2 separate regions of the Homo sapiens genome follow, and region 1 is linked to region 2. The links are contacts of gene promoters, found by promoter capture Hi-C in blood cells and fetal thymus (Javierre and others, 2016). All regions are on one chromosome and are shown on one strand. The core of a region is centred on a gene start or on the middle of the fragment in contact, and the rest is flanking DNA. Distances in the headings are between cores, read along the strand shown. Region 1 holds the start of RANBP6 (RAN binding protein 6). Region 2 holds the start of PUM3 (pumilio RNA binding family member 3).

The links. Contacts are between HindIII fragments. The CHiCAGO score rates a contact against its expected background, and 5 or more counts as called.
Region 1: a contact is called between a fragment that was not itself captured here and the fragment with the promoter of PUM3 in region 2, in 1 of 17 cell types (non-activated CD4 T cells). The highest score is 5.4, in non-activated CD4 T cells.

The regions. Positions count from the first base shown.
Region 1 is chr9:6,010,165-6,016,604 of GRCh38, reverse strand. RANBP6 (RAN binding protein 6) reads left to right here and starts at 981. Exons shown (of 1, transcript NM_012416.4): 1 at 981-5,580. The coding sequence starts at 998. The coding sequence ends at 4,315. RefSeq lists an enhancer at 1,103-1,162. The HindIII fragment of the contact is 2,610 bases long and covers 67-2,676 here.
Region 2 is chr9:2,839,787-2,846,315 of GRCh38, reverse strand. PUM3 (pumilio RNA binding family member 3) reads left to right here and starts at 2,221. Exons shown (of 18, transcript NM_014878.5): 1 at 2,221-2,271. RefSeq lists enhancers at 1,890-2,129, 1,953-2,247, 2,631-3,192. The HindIII fragment of the contact is 3,665 bases long and covers 288-3,952 here.

The sequences.
Region 1 (6,440 bases), core at 122-2,621, 3.2 Mb before region 2:
TGCATTAGATGTGGTAGTGGGGAAGTAATTATTATTTTATTATCACACTTATTATTTTATAAAGCTTTATTGTAGTATTATTTATATGCCATACAATTCACCAATTTAAATTTAACAACTCAATGGTTTTTAGTATAATCACAGAATTGTGCAACCATCACAATTAATTTTAGAACATTTCATCACTCAGAAAGAAACACCCTATTTGATAGCAGTCATTCTCTATCCTCCCCTCCCCCCAACCTCTGGCAACCACTAATTTCTGTTATACAATTTGCCTGTTTGGTACCTTTCATACAAATGGAATCATACAATATGTGGTTGTGACTGGTTTCTTTCACTTGGCATGTTTTCAAGATAGACTTATTGTTTTAAAATTATCAAAGTAACAATATAGTTTAGAAATAAAAGAAAAAAATCACTCATAATCTGACCAGAAGCAGTGGCTCACACCTGTATTCCCAGTACTTCGGGAGGCCGAGGCGGGCAGATCACCTGAGCCCAGGAGTTCGAGACCAGCCTGGGCAACATGGCGAAACCCTGTCTCTATAAAAAACACAATTAGCCGGGCGTGGTGGCGCGCGCCTGTGGTCCCAGCTACTGGGGGAACTGAGGCGGGGAGGATCGCTTGAGCCCAGGAGGTTGAGGCTGCAGTGAGCAGGGATCGCGCCGCTATACTCCAGCCTAGGTGACACAGCCAGACCTTGTATCCAAAAAAAAAAAAAGTCATGATCCCATTCTAATCAATGCTTTTCTTCTCTCGCCTGCAAGTGCACGTTTATCTTATTGAAAAACAAATGGAGGATGCCATTGGCCTCCACACGGCTCTCACCTCTCTCCAAAACCTAGCTCGCAGCCTGCCAGAGCGCAGCTAGAGTTTCTGGGCAGAGGAGGGAGAAGCACCCCGCCCATCCCCGCCGGCGCCTCGCCTACGTCACTGCTTCGAGCCGCAGACCCCCTCCCTCCTTCCCGGTCGCGGTAGCTTTGACAGAGCGCAATGGCGGCAACCGCGTCTGCAGGGGTGCCGGCGACCGTGTCAGAAAAGCAAGAGTTTTACCAGCTTCTGAAGAACCTGATCAATCCAAGCTGTATGGTGCGGAGGCAAGCAGAGGAAATCTATGAAAATATCCCAGGTCTGTGTAAGACTACCTTCCTCTTAGATGCCGTCAGAAATAGAAGAGCAGGTTATGAGGTGAGACAAATGGCTGCCGCACTGCTACGACGGCTTTTGTCCTCTGGGTTTGAGGAGGTTTATCCAAATCTGCCTGCTGATGTTCAGAGAGATGTCAAGATTGAACTGATTCTGGCTGTTAAGTTAGAAACACATGCTAGCATGAGGAAAAAACTTTGTGATATTTTTGCAGTGCTGGCCAGGAATTTGATAGATGAGGATGGCACTAACCACTGGCCGGAAGGTCTGAAGTTTCTTATTGATTCAATCTACTCCAAAAATGTGGTTCTATGGGAAGTTGCACTTCACGTTTTCTGGCACTTTCCTGGGATTTTTGGGACCCAAGAGCGGCATGATTTGGATATCATCAAACGGTTGTTGGACCAGTGTATTCAAGATCAAGAACATCCAGCAATCAGGACATTATCCGCTAGAGCTGCAGCTGCATTTGTACTTGCTAATGAGAATAATATTGCTCTTTTCAAAGACTTTGCAGACTTGCTTCCTGGAATCTTACAGGCTGTGAATGACTCATGCTACCAGGATGATGATTCAGTGCTAGAATCCCTTGTTGAGATTGCAGATACCGTACCTAAGTACTTGGGTCCTTATTTAGAAGATACTCTACAGTTGAGTTTGAAGTTATGTGGAGACTCTAGGCTTAGTAATCTGCAGCGCCAGCTGGCCCTCGAAGTTATAGTGACCTTGTCTGAAACTGCCACTCCGATGTTGAAAAAACATACAAATATTATTGCACAGGCAGTTCCTCATATATTAGCAATGATGGTTGATCTACAAGATGATGAGGACTGGGTAAATGCTGATGAAATGGAAGAAGATGATTTTGACAGCAATGCAGTTGCTGCGGAGAGTGCACTAGACAGACTGGCTTGTGGGCTTGGTGGAAAAGTTGTTTTACCAATGACCAAGGAGCATATCATGCAGATGCTTCAGAGCCCTGACTGGAAGTATCGACATGCTGGATTAATGGCCTTATCTGCCATTGGAGAAGGATGCCATCAACAAATGGAATCAATTCTAGATGAAACAGTTAACTCCGTTTTGCTTTTTCTTCAGGATCCTCATCCAAGGGTGAGGGCTGCAGCCTGTACTACACTTGGACAGATGGCTACAGATTTTGCACCTAATTTCCAAAAGAAATTTCATGAAACAGTGATTGCAGCTCTGTTACGTACCATGGAAAATCAAGGTAATCAGCGTGTGCAATCACATGCAGCTTCTGCTCTTATTATTTTTATTGAAGACTGCCCTAAATCATTGCTAGTTCTATATGTGGATAGTATGGTGAAAAATCTACATTCCGTCTTGGTGATTAAACTTCAAGAGTTGATTCGGAATGGAACTAAGTTGGCTTTGGAACAACTTGTGACAACCATTGCATCAGTTGCAGATACAATAGAAGAAAAATTTGTCCCATATTATGATATATTCATGCCCTCACTAAAGCACATTGTTGAGCTTGCTGTTCAGAAGGAACTCAAGCTTCTGAGAGGAAAAACTATCGAGTGCATTAGCCATATTGGTCTTGCTGTTGGGAAGGAAAAATTTATGCAAGATGCATCAAATGTGATGCAGCTGTTGTTGAAGACACAATCAGACTTAAATAATATGGAAGATGATGACCCTCAGACCTCTTACATGGTTTCAGCATGGGCTAGAATGTGTAAAATTCTTGGAAAAGATTTTCAACAGTACCTTCCACTGGTTATCGAGCCTCTTATTAAGACTGCTTCAGCTAAACCTGATGTTGCTCTCTTAGACACACAGGATGTGGAAAATATGAGTGACGATGATGGCTGGCAATTTGTAAATCTTGGAGACCAGCAGAGTTTTGGAATTAAAACTTCAGGACTTGAAGCAAAAGCAACTGCTTGCCAAATGTTGGTTTACTATGCTAAGGAGTTAAGGGAAGGGTTTGTGGAATATACAGAACAAGTTGTGAAGCTGATGGTTCCTTTACTGAAATTTTATTTCCATGACAATGTTCGAGTGGCAGCAGCAGAGTCCATGCCTTTTCTCCTGGAATGTGCAAGAATTCGTGGCCCAGAGTATCTTGCACAGATGTGGCAATTCATATGTGACCCCTTAATCAAGGCTATTGGTACTGAACCAGATACAGATGTGCTCTCAGAAATAATGAATTCTTTTGCAAAGTCCATTGAAGTTATGGGAGATGGTTGCCTTAATGATGAACACTTGGAAGAACTGGGAGGAATACTGAAAGCAAAACTTGAAGGGCACTTTAAAAACCAAGAATTGAGACAGGTGAAAAGACAGGAAGAAAACTATGATCAACAGGTTGAGATGTCTCTGCAAGATGAGGATGAATGTGATGTTTATATTCTGACCAAAGTATCAGATATTTTGCACTCATTATTTAGTACTTATAAGGAAAAGATTTTACCATGGTTTGAACAACTACTTCCATTAATTGTAAATCTAATTTGTTCAAGTAGGCCATGGCCAGACAGACAGTGGGGATTGTGCATATTTGATGACATCATAGAGCACTGCAGTCCAACTTCATTTAAATATGTAGAATATTTTCGGTGGCCAATGCTACTAAATATGCGAGATAACAACCCTGAAGTCAGGCAAGCTGCTGCTTATGGCCTGGGTGTCATGGCACAGTTTGGTGGAGATGATTATCGTTCTTTATGTTCAGAAGCTGTTCCACTTCTGGTAAAAGTTATTAAGTGTGCAAATTCCAAAACCAAAAAAAATGTCATTGCTACAGAGAACTGTATCTCAGCAATAGGGAAGATTTTGAAGTTTAAGCCTAACTGTGTAAATGTAGATGAAGTTCTTCCACACTGGTTATCATGGCTTCCACTGCATGAAGATAAAGAGGAAGCTATTCAGACTTTGAGTTTTCTCTGTGACCTAATTGAAAGTAACCACCCAGTTGTAATTGGTCCAAATAATTCCAATCTTCCCAAAATAATCAGTATAATTGCAGAAGGAAAAATTAATGAGACTATTAACTATGAGGATCCTTGTGCCAAACGCCTAGCTAATGTCGTGCGTCAGGTACAGACTTCTGAAGATTTATGGTTGGAATGTGTATCACAACTTGATGATGAACAGCAGGAAGCCTTACAGGAGTTGCTAAATTTTGCTTGAAGCACTTTAATATAACTTGAATATTATCTATTATAAAAGTAACTACAAATAAGTGTTGTGAATAGATTTTATTATAAATCAGAGAACTGTTTTCTCCCTGCTAAGCAGTTTATAGTTCTTCTCCATGTTTCTCCAGAATTAATCAGTGTTAGTCCTCTGTTTATCTCGCATGTTTTATCTTCCAAACACAGACCTTGGTGATAACCTGTGCTTCAAACTGTCTTAAACAATGTTTGTCACCTTTCCCCTAGTTGATGTAAAGTATATAAATTGTTGCTATTTGTTTGAACTATTATTGATGCTAGCCAAGCAGTATACTTGATGTGAAGATGTCATGCTATCACAATATGCTAAGAGCTCACAAAAATAAGATAGAATTTCCAGGACAAACATCTTTGGAATTGTGAGTGAAGGATATAGTGGCAGGCTTGTCCCTCTTTAATTAATACTCTTGGTATTTGTGGTGATGGGAGGATGCTGTTACTAGGAGAGTTTTGAGATACTGCAGTGGATGTGGGATGTATATGAACTTCTTCATAATGTACTCCTGGGAACTGGGTAGGACATATCCATATTGTAGTTCCCAAGGTGTCTGGTTGAGAGTTAGAGAACTTTTAAATTTCTTTAGCCAGACAGGTCTCTATTTTTTTAAGTTATCCAGGACTCCAAGAACCATAGTTACTGAAAAGGGAGTCCTGATACATCTAATATTGGTAGCATGTAACAGTGTTTGACAAAGAGTAAGTAAGCAGTATTCTTGGGAGTCAGTGTTATGTGTTTCAGCAGAGTATTATTTTGTATATGTATGCCATTTTCTCCCTGCAAAGCAGCTCAACAAGAGAAAAAGCTCTAGTTATAGGGCTTAAATTGATTTCTATTTCAAATAATTTCCTAAGAGATTCTAGAGTAGAACTGAAGAGTATTCTATTGGAAAAGTGAAAGGAAAGAAATGTAATTTTCTTTGAACATGAAAAAGAAAACAACTTTGAGAGTAGTCATTTAGCAGTAGATGTGCATTATTATGAGAAAACAGTTCTATAAGTCCAGGGTTAATTATATTAATTGGAATGTCAGTCTTTAATGTCGAGCTTATTGTAGGGTAGAAAAGAGCTTTCTACTCAGCTAACGATTACTCATTGATCCAAAACTTAAATACATCTATAATTTCCTGGGGCTATTGTGAGTACTGTGTATGTATTTAGCAAATATTTAAGACCTAGTAAGTGCTCAATAAATTGTAGCTGTTATTGCTGTTGTTGTTTGTACCTCTATTGTGTCTGGAACTTCTTTTACTTTAGAATTTTCCCAATCCATTCCCTACTCATTCATATTGGCAGGCTATTTAGGCTATTGTTGACAAGAATATAAAGTTGAGATTTTAGATATGCAATTCTGTCCATTCCATGTAATTATTACTAATGGGGGAAAAAGGAAAATTAAGGACATTATGTATAGTATGATCACAATTTTTAGTATATTTAAGATAAATAAAGTATAGAAGAATGAATAGAAAAATCCCACCTCAAAGTATTAATAGAGGTTTTCTCTAGGTGGTAGGATTAAGTGGCAAATTTTCTCCTCACTTACCTATATTTTCTAATTTACCTACATACCTACAACCAACATATTTCTTGTTTTGTTTGTTTGTTTTGAGATGTAGTTTTGCTCTTGTTGCCCAAGCTGGAGTGCAATGGCACGATCTCGGCTCACTGCAACCTCCGCCTCCCAGGTTCAAGCAATTCTGCCTCAGCTTCCCGAGTAGCTGGGATTACAGGTGCGCACCACCACTCCCAGCTAATTTTTTGTATTCTTAGTAGAAACGGGGTTTCACCATGTTAGCCAGGCTGGTCTAGAACTCCTGACCTCAGGTGATCTGTCCACCTCAGCCTCCCAAAGTGCAGGGATTACAGGTGTCAGCCACCGTGCCCAGCCCATATTTCTTGTGTAATAGAGTTTCTTTTTTAAGATCAAGGACCCGATCCTACTTTCATTATAGTTAAGTTGCTATCATCTTGACCTCTTCATAACCTAGAGTTGAGGTTCCTTCTACTCACCCACACCTTTCTCTTTTATATAATCTTAATTAAGAAACCCTTTATCAACATTTCTAGCAATTCCCTACACT
Region 2 (6,529 bases), core at 972-3,471:
GAAACTGAGGCCCATACAAGTTGGCTATCTTGTCCTTGGCCATACAGAATTTAGATTGTAAGCCAGGTTCCTTTGATTCTAATCTCAATGCTCGTCATTGCATTGCTATAGTACTGTTATTAACCTCTTGGATGTGTGCAAGTCTAGTTGCTCTGATTAAATTGTGTATCACGCAAGAAGAGCATCTTAGGCTTGTAGGAGTACACCTAGTGGTCTACATTTAGATCATTAGATATTTGAAGAATTAATGGGTTTGCTTGACAAAAAAAAAAATTACAGGATAAGCTTTTTTTGTGCTGTTCTGCAAAACCACACGATGCTTTCAATTCACTCCAAAAAAAAAAAAAAAATCCAAATCAATCCACTTTCACAGAAGACTTGATAAAAAAGTTTTTAATAATAATCAAGGGCTTTGATATGTGATAACATTTTTTTTTTCCTCCCTGGTGAAAAGGCAAATGAATAGCAGGGTTTTGGTGCAGATGCTTAAGGCAACTGCATGGACCTATCTTCAAGGATATGGGGTGCTGCTGTCTGTCGAGTTGAAAACACAAACGTATCCCTTCCCAGGGTTGTGTGATAGGGTGTATTTTGCGATTTTTCTTTCTTTTTGGCCAGCATTTACTTGTCAGGTGTTTCAAGGTGTCTAATATCCCCACTACTATGCTATTTGCCCAAAAGGCACAGCTGATGGGCCTCCTGCAATTCCTGTTCCATATTCTCTTCTCTTAGCATTTACTGAATTATTGAAAGCAGTACGGAGGCAGCCACGTTGAGTTTAGAGTCAGGCTCACTGGACCAAAGCTACTATGTTTTGCCTTTCTCTGTAAAATGAGAAAAGACCTATTTAAAACGTTCTTATGAGATTTAAATGAGCTGAAATGTAAACTAGTAACAGTTAAGGTAGACGACAAGAACTTATCAAGTATCTATGTGCTGCATAGTGAGATAAGTGCCTGGAAAGTAATGATGGCCCCTGTCATCAAGAAGCATACAGTCTACTAAATTACCAGTTTCAACTCTAACTCCTTAGTGGCCAGAAAACGGAGTAAGTTGGAAGACAGTAAAATCTGAAGTCTGGCACCAGGGATCAAGTGCCAGTTCCTCAACTTTACAGATGCAGTGGGTTGAATAGTCTCCAAAAGATATGTCTATGTCCTAACTCCCAGGACATGTGAAAGTGACCTTATTTGGGAAAAGGGCCTTTGCAGATGTGATTAAGGACCTCCAGATGAGATGATCTTGGATTATCCCCGTGGACTCTAAATTCAATGTTCAGTGTCCTAAAAACACACAGAGAAGTGGCACAGGCACAGGAGAAGGCCATTAGAAGACAGGCCGAGATTGGAGTCATGCAACAAGAGGCCACGGACCGCCTGGAACCGTTAGAAGCTGAAGAAGCAAAGCATTCTCCCCTAGAGCCTTCAAAAGGTGCAGGGCTCTGCCAACAGCTTGATTTTGGAATTCTTGCCTCTAGAACAGTTAAAGAATAAAATTCTGTTGCTTGACACGAGCAAGTTTGTGGTGTCAGTTTCTTCATCTGGAAAATGGGGCATATATCCTAACCACAATCTTATTTCCTGAAGTATAAAATGGAATAACAGCAGTTTCCAGGCACGAGCAGACACTAAAAATGGCAAACATTTATTGAGAGCGTTCCATGCTAAGCGCTTTGCACGTATCACTTAATTATTTCTATTTTATTGATCAGGAAGCCAAAGCTCATAAAAACTGTAATTTTCCCAGAGCCACACAGCTAGCAAGTGAAAAAAACGGGATTACAATTCAAATCGACTCACAAGATACCCCTTTTATCCTCCACGCTGGACTGCTGAGGAAGTATGCAAATTAACACACTTTAGAAACTTTAGCTACTTCAATATTTGTTCAGGCTACGGGATGCAGGCCTCTTATTAACCGCGCCAGCCAGGTCTGTCCTTCAGCAGCCTGTTCTGCCTCGCAAGAGCTCTCCCTCTCTTTCCAGCACGGAAGCCACAGGGTTAATGACGTCATTTCCCGTGGCCGTTGTCGCGTCCTCCGCCCGACGGATTCTTGCAAGGGCCAAAATCCTCGCGCCTCAAGAGGAGGCATAACAGCAGCGGACCAATAGAAATTCCGAATTTTTGTATTCTCTGGGAAGCTCCACCTCTTAGTCCCTGATCCGCCGCGGAAGATGAAAAAAAGCGGCCCGGGGGCGGAGCAAGGCAAGGAAGCGGAAGCGGAGAGGCGGTCGGGATCCGCTGCGCGAGCTGTCTCGGTCCCACGTGTGCGGTGAGTGTGGCAGGCTCAGCGGTCGCTCTTGGGAGGGGTTCGCACCCTGCCGGGCGCTGGAAGTCGGGAAGGTCTCTCGGGGCTGTTGTCCACTGGGCAGTCTCCTCTGGCCTCTTTCTGGGCTAGGAGTTTGGGACTGACTGGAGCCTGGCAAGAAGGGCGGGACTGGCCGGGCGCGGTGGCTCACGCCTGTAATCCCAGCACTTTGGGAGGCCGAGGCGGGCGGATCACAAGGTCAGGAGATCGAGACCATCCTGGCTAACACGGTGAAACCCCGTCTCTACTAAAACTACAAAAAATTAGCCGGGCATGGTGGCGGGCGCCTGTGGTCCCAGCTACTTGGGAGGCTGAGGCAGGAGAATGGCGTGAACCCGGGAGGCGGAGCTTGCAGTGAGCCAAGATCGTGCCACTACACTCCAGCCTGGGAGACAGAGCAAGACTCCGTCTCAAAAAAAAAAAAAAAAAAAAAAAGAAGGGCGGGACTCCGACCTCTCTCCCACCACGTTGCCCTGCGTGCCGGGTTAGAGTGGACTAGCTTCACTCCGGAATCCCAGCCCGTGCTCGGCCTGATCAGCCTGTCTGTGCTACTTCACAAACCCCAACTCCAGTGCTAGGCGGTTTGCCTGAATGTACGCAGATTCTAAGTGCTGGGAGGAAACGAACTGGATGCTGAGTTGGCAGATAGTGGAGTCTGAAGAAGTGATCTTTAAACGGAGATTTGGAAGCTCAGGGAGTACTTCAAGCAGAGGCGATAATGGGCTAAGTTCCTGAGATGGGAGCTAGGAAGGAGTATAGTTAGAGTACAAGATAAAGTTAGCCGGATAGAGTGGAACTAGGTTCTGTAGGGCCTTGAAGGTCATGATGGGGAATTTTTTTTTCTGTACAATAGGAAAACATTTCCGTTCCTATTACCATGTGTAGAAAACATTGAAGACTTGTAAGCAAGTGAGAATCATGAATAGGCCCTGGTTCTCTTTAGAAAATGTATTACATTTGGAAGCTCAAGAGATTGTATTGGTAATAGTTTGCATTAGGGTGGTGACGTAAGGGACATTTAAGAGAACTAACTTATGGTTCAGCGTGGCAGAGTAGAGAGGAAAATGTCAAGGGTAACTCAGATTTCTTACTTGAGCAGTAAAGTAGATGATGTGCCATTGGCTGAGATGGAGGACGATAGGGCAGGGAAAAATAGTATATTGTTGTTTGTGGGGCAAACAACAATAACATAAAGAACAACATAGAGAATTATGTTTTGGACATATTAAGGGTAAGGTTCCTGTTAGACACATAATTAGAGGTATCAGATAAGCAGTTATACACAAGTTTGGACCCCAAGGAGAAGTTCATAATGGAGACATGATTTGGGAGTACTCAGCATAAAAAGCCAGGAGATTGGATGAGACCACCTAGGGAGAAGTGTGGAGAGAGAAGGGAAGTTCCCTAGGGCAAAGATTTGAGGAATGCTAACATGTAGAGGTTGGTCTATAAGAAAATGTCATTTAAACTGAATTTGAAGGATGGGTAGAAATTGTGTTGGTAGAGAGAATGGCTTTAAACTTCACTATTCTGATAAGAATAGTGGCTCCTGTGTGGTGGTGATGAGTGGGGTGAATTAAGACCACATTTTGAATGGCTGTGAATGCCTGAGTTGGAACTTTTTCCTGAAGGCAGTGGGAAAGCTTTGAAGCTATTGGAGCATGGAAATGACATGAAATAGGTGTGCTACTGGAAGGTTAATCAGGCAGCGGAAAGTGGATCAAAGCAGATAGGATCTAAACAAAACTGAGCAAGAGGTAACAGGAGCCTGAATGGGGTAATAGAGGGAAAGGAAAAAGGGGGGCGAATTCCAAGAGACACTATTGAATGTGATGATTCATTACGAAGGTACAGGGTTCCCAAGCAAAGCAAATTGCATTTTGCCCAGTGCAAAAAGCAAGACTCAAAAAGTTACATATTGTATGATTCCATGTATAAGAATGCCATTCTGGAAAAGACAAAACAGGAGTGAAAACCTAATCATTGGCAGTCAGGAAAGAGGGAAGGAGTTGAATACAAAGGAGCTGTACCAGGGGACTTTTTAGAGTGACAGGACTTTTCTGTAAGATACTGTGGTAGTGGATGCATGAGTCTTAGCCATTTGTTGAAGCCCGTGGAATTATACACCAGAAAGAGTAAACTTGACTATATGCACATTTAATAAATCTGCCAGCATTTCTGGGGATGGAATGCAGGCTGTGACAAATCAGTTAAACTATATTATAAACATGTAACTTCACTAAAGAGGGTGAGGGGCCGAAGGGCTGATCTAAGAACCTTTTTTTTTTTTTTTTGGCCTGCAGCAGTAATTGCTGCAGGCAGAATACACTGACTTGAATGCTAAAGTTAGCAAGTAAAACTTAAGAGGAGGTAGGATGTCCATATATTCTCCAAACATCTTGTCTGAAATGTTTATTAATTGCTATGGTAGTTTAACATTTGAAATAGAGTCTCACTCTGTTGCCCAGGCTGGAGTGTAGTGGCACAATCTCAGCTCGCTGCAGCCTCTGCCTCCTGGGTTCAGGTGATTTTCCTGCCTCAGCCCCCTGAGTAGCTGGGATTACATGTTTGCAACACCACCATGCCCAGCTAAATTTTGTATTTTTAGTAGAGATGGGGTTTGGTCTTGAACTCCTGACCTCAGGTAATCCACCTGCCTCAGCCTCCCAAAGTGCTGGGATTACAGGTGTGAGCCACCATGCAAGCCTCTAAGTAACTTTGGAAAAGTATTTTGAATGGATACAAAAAAGAATTGTACGTCAACACTGTACTGTCATTGTAAATTTATTTCTCACGGGGTACAGGTTAGCAATTCTGAAACTATGCATGTATAGTAGGGTGGAATATGTGTATAAATAAATTGTAGATGGTGGGAAGCAGGTTGCTCACTGTCAGAGAAGGAAGTTACAAATGAGCAAGAGGAGATGCCTGGAGGAAAATATGTGGTGCTTGATTAGATTTGGAAACATCAGTATGAGCTTCAAGTTATTGTAATAGATATAAAAATAAATATAGGTATGTGCATATGCATAAGTTAATATACATATATGTGTTTCCTGAATCTGTCTGCCGAAAGGACATAGAAACAGGGACACCTCAGTGACAACAAGTGCGCCTAGCACTCAGATCTTGGTTTTTAAATACCATTCTCAATGAAAGGAACCAGGATTCCTTGGAGAAGTGGCTGATTTCAGGGCTAGGTTAAGGAAAATACAGAAGGAACCTGGAGCCAGTGCCAGGAAATAAGGATGTGCTTTAAAAGCAAAACAAAACAGTTGGGCCGCGTCAAAAGGACACAGAAGCAACCTGAGAAACTTCCCCCTGGCTGGAGCTAGCATTATTTGAGCAACAAAATAACAGTGGTATTGGATTATAACCAAGGAATGAAATAAATATCTGAGACTATATGATACAAGTAAATAGATGGAAAAGATGGGACAAGTCTTCCCTACAGAAAAGTTGAGAATAACAAAGGCAAAAGTAATAAGAGAAATAGAAGATCACCATTTAAATGCAGTAATTGCTGCAGGCGATATCCACCGACAAATGCTAAAGTTAGCAGGTAAAACTTAGGAGGACATAGGATGTCTACATATTCTCCAAACATCTTGTCTAAAATGTTTATTAATTGCTGTGGTAGTTTAACGTATGCCTGGATTCTTTAGTACCCCTCCTTCTGGGAAGTGGAGCTTAATTTTCCTCTGACTTTGGGCTGGACTTGGTGGTTTGGATCTAATAAAGATGGAAAGGTTAAAGTGGCAACTTCACAGTGGAGAAACCTGGAAAACACTACTTTGACCAAGTGAACACGGTTAACATAAACAGTAATAAGTCATGTTAATGTCATGTACCTCTTGATAGAGTACTACCAGAAGAAAGCTTGACCTCTGGTAGTCTTCCAAAAAATGTGTAGCCTTAGCCTAATCATGAGAAAACATCAGGCAAACCCCAAATGAGGAATATTCTACAAAATACAAAGGAGACTTGATGGCCAGATTCAGTGTATCCTGGTACAGAAAGAGGATATTAGTGGAAAAACTGGTAAACTCCAACTCAACTCTGTAGCTTAGTTAACTGTATGTTAACATTAGGGGAAGCTGGGGAAAGGGTATATGTGAACTGTGTATCTTTTCAACTCTTTTGTAAAGCTAAAATTATTTCAATATAAAAATTAGAACAAACATACAGAGAAAACATGTAAATGAATGGATTCTTAGAAAAC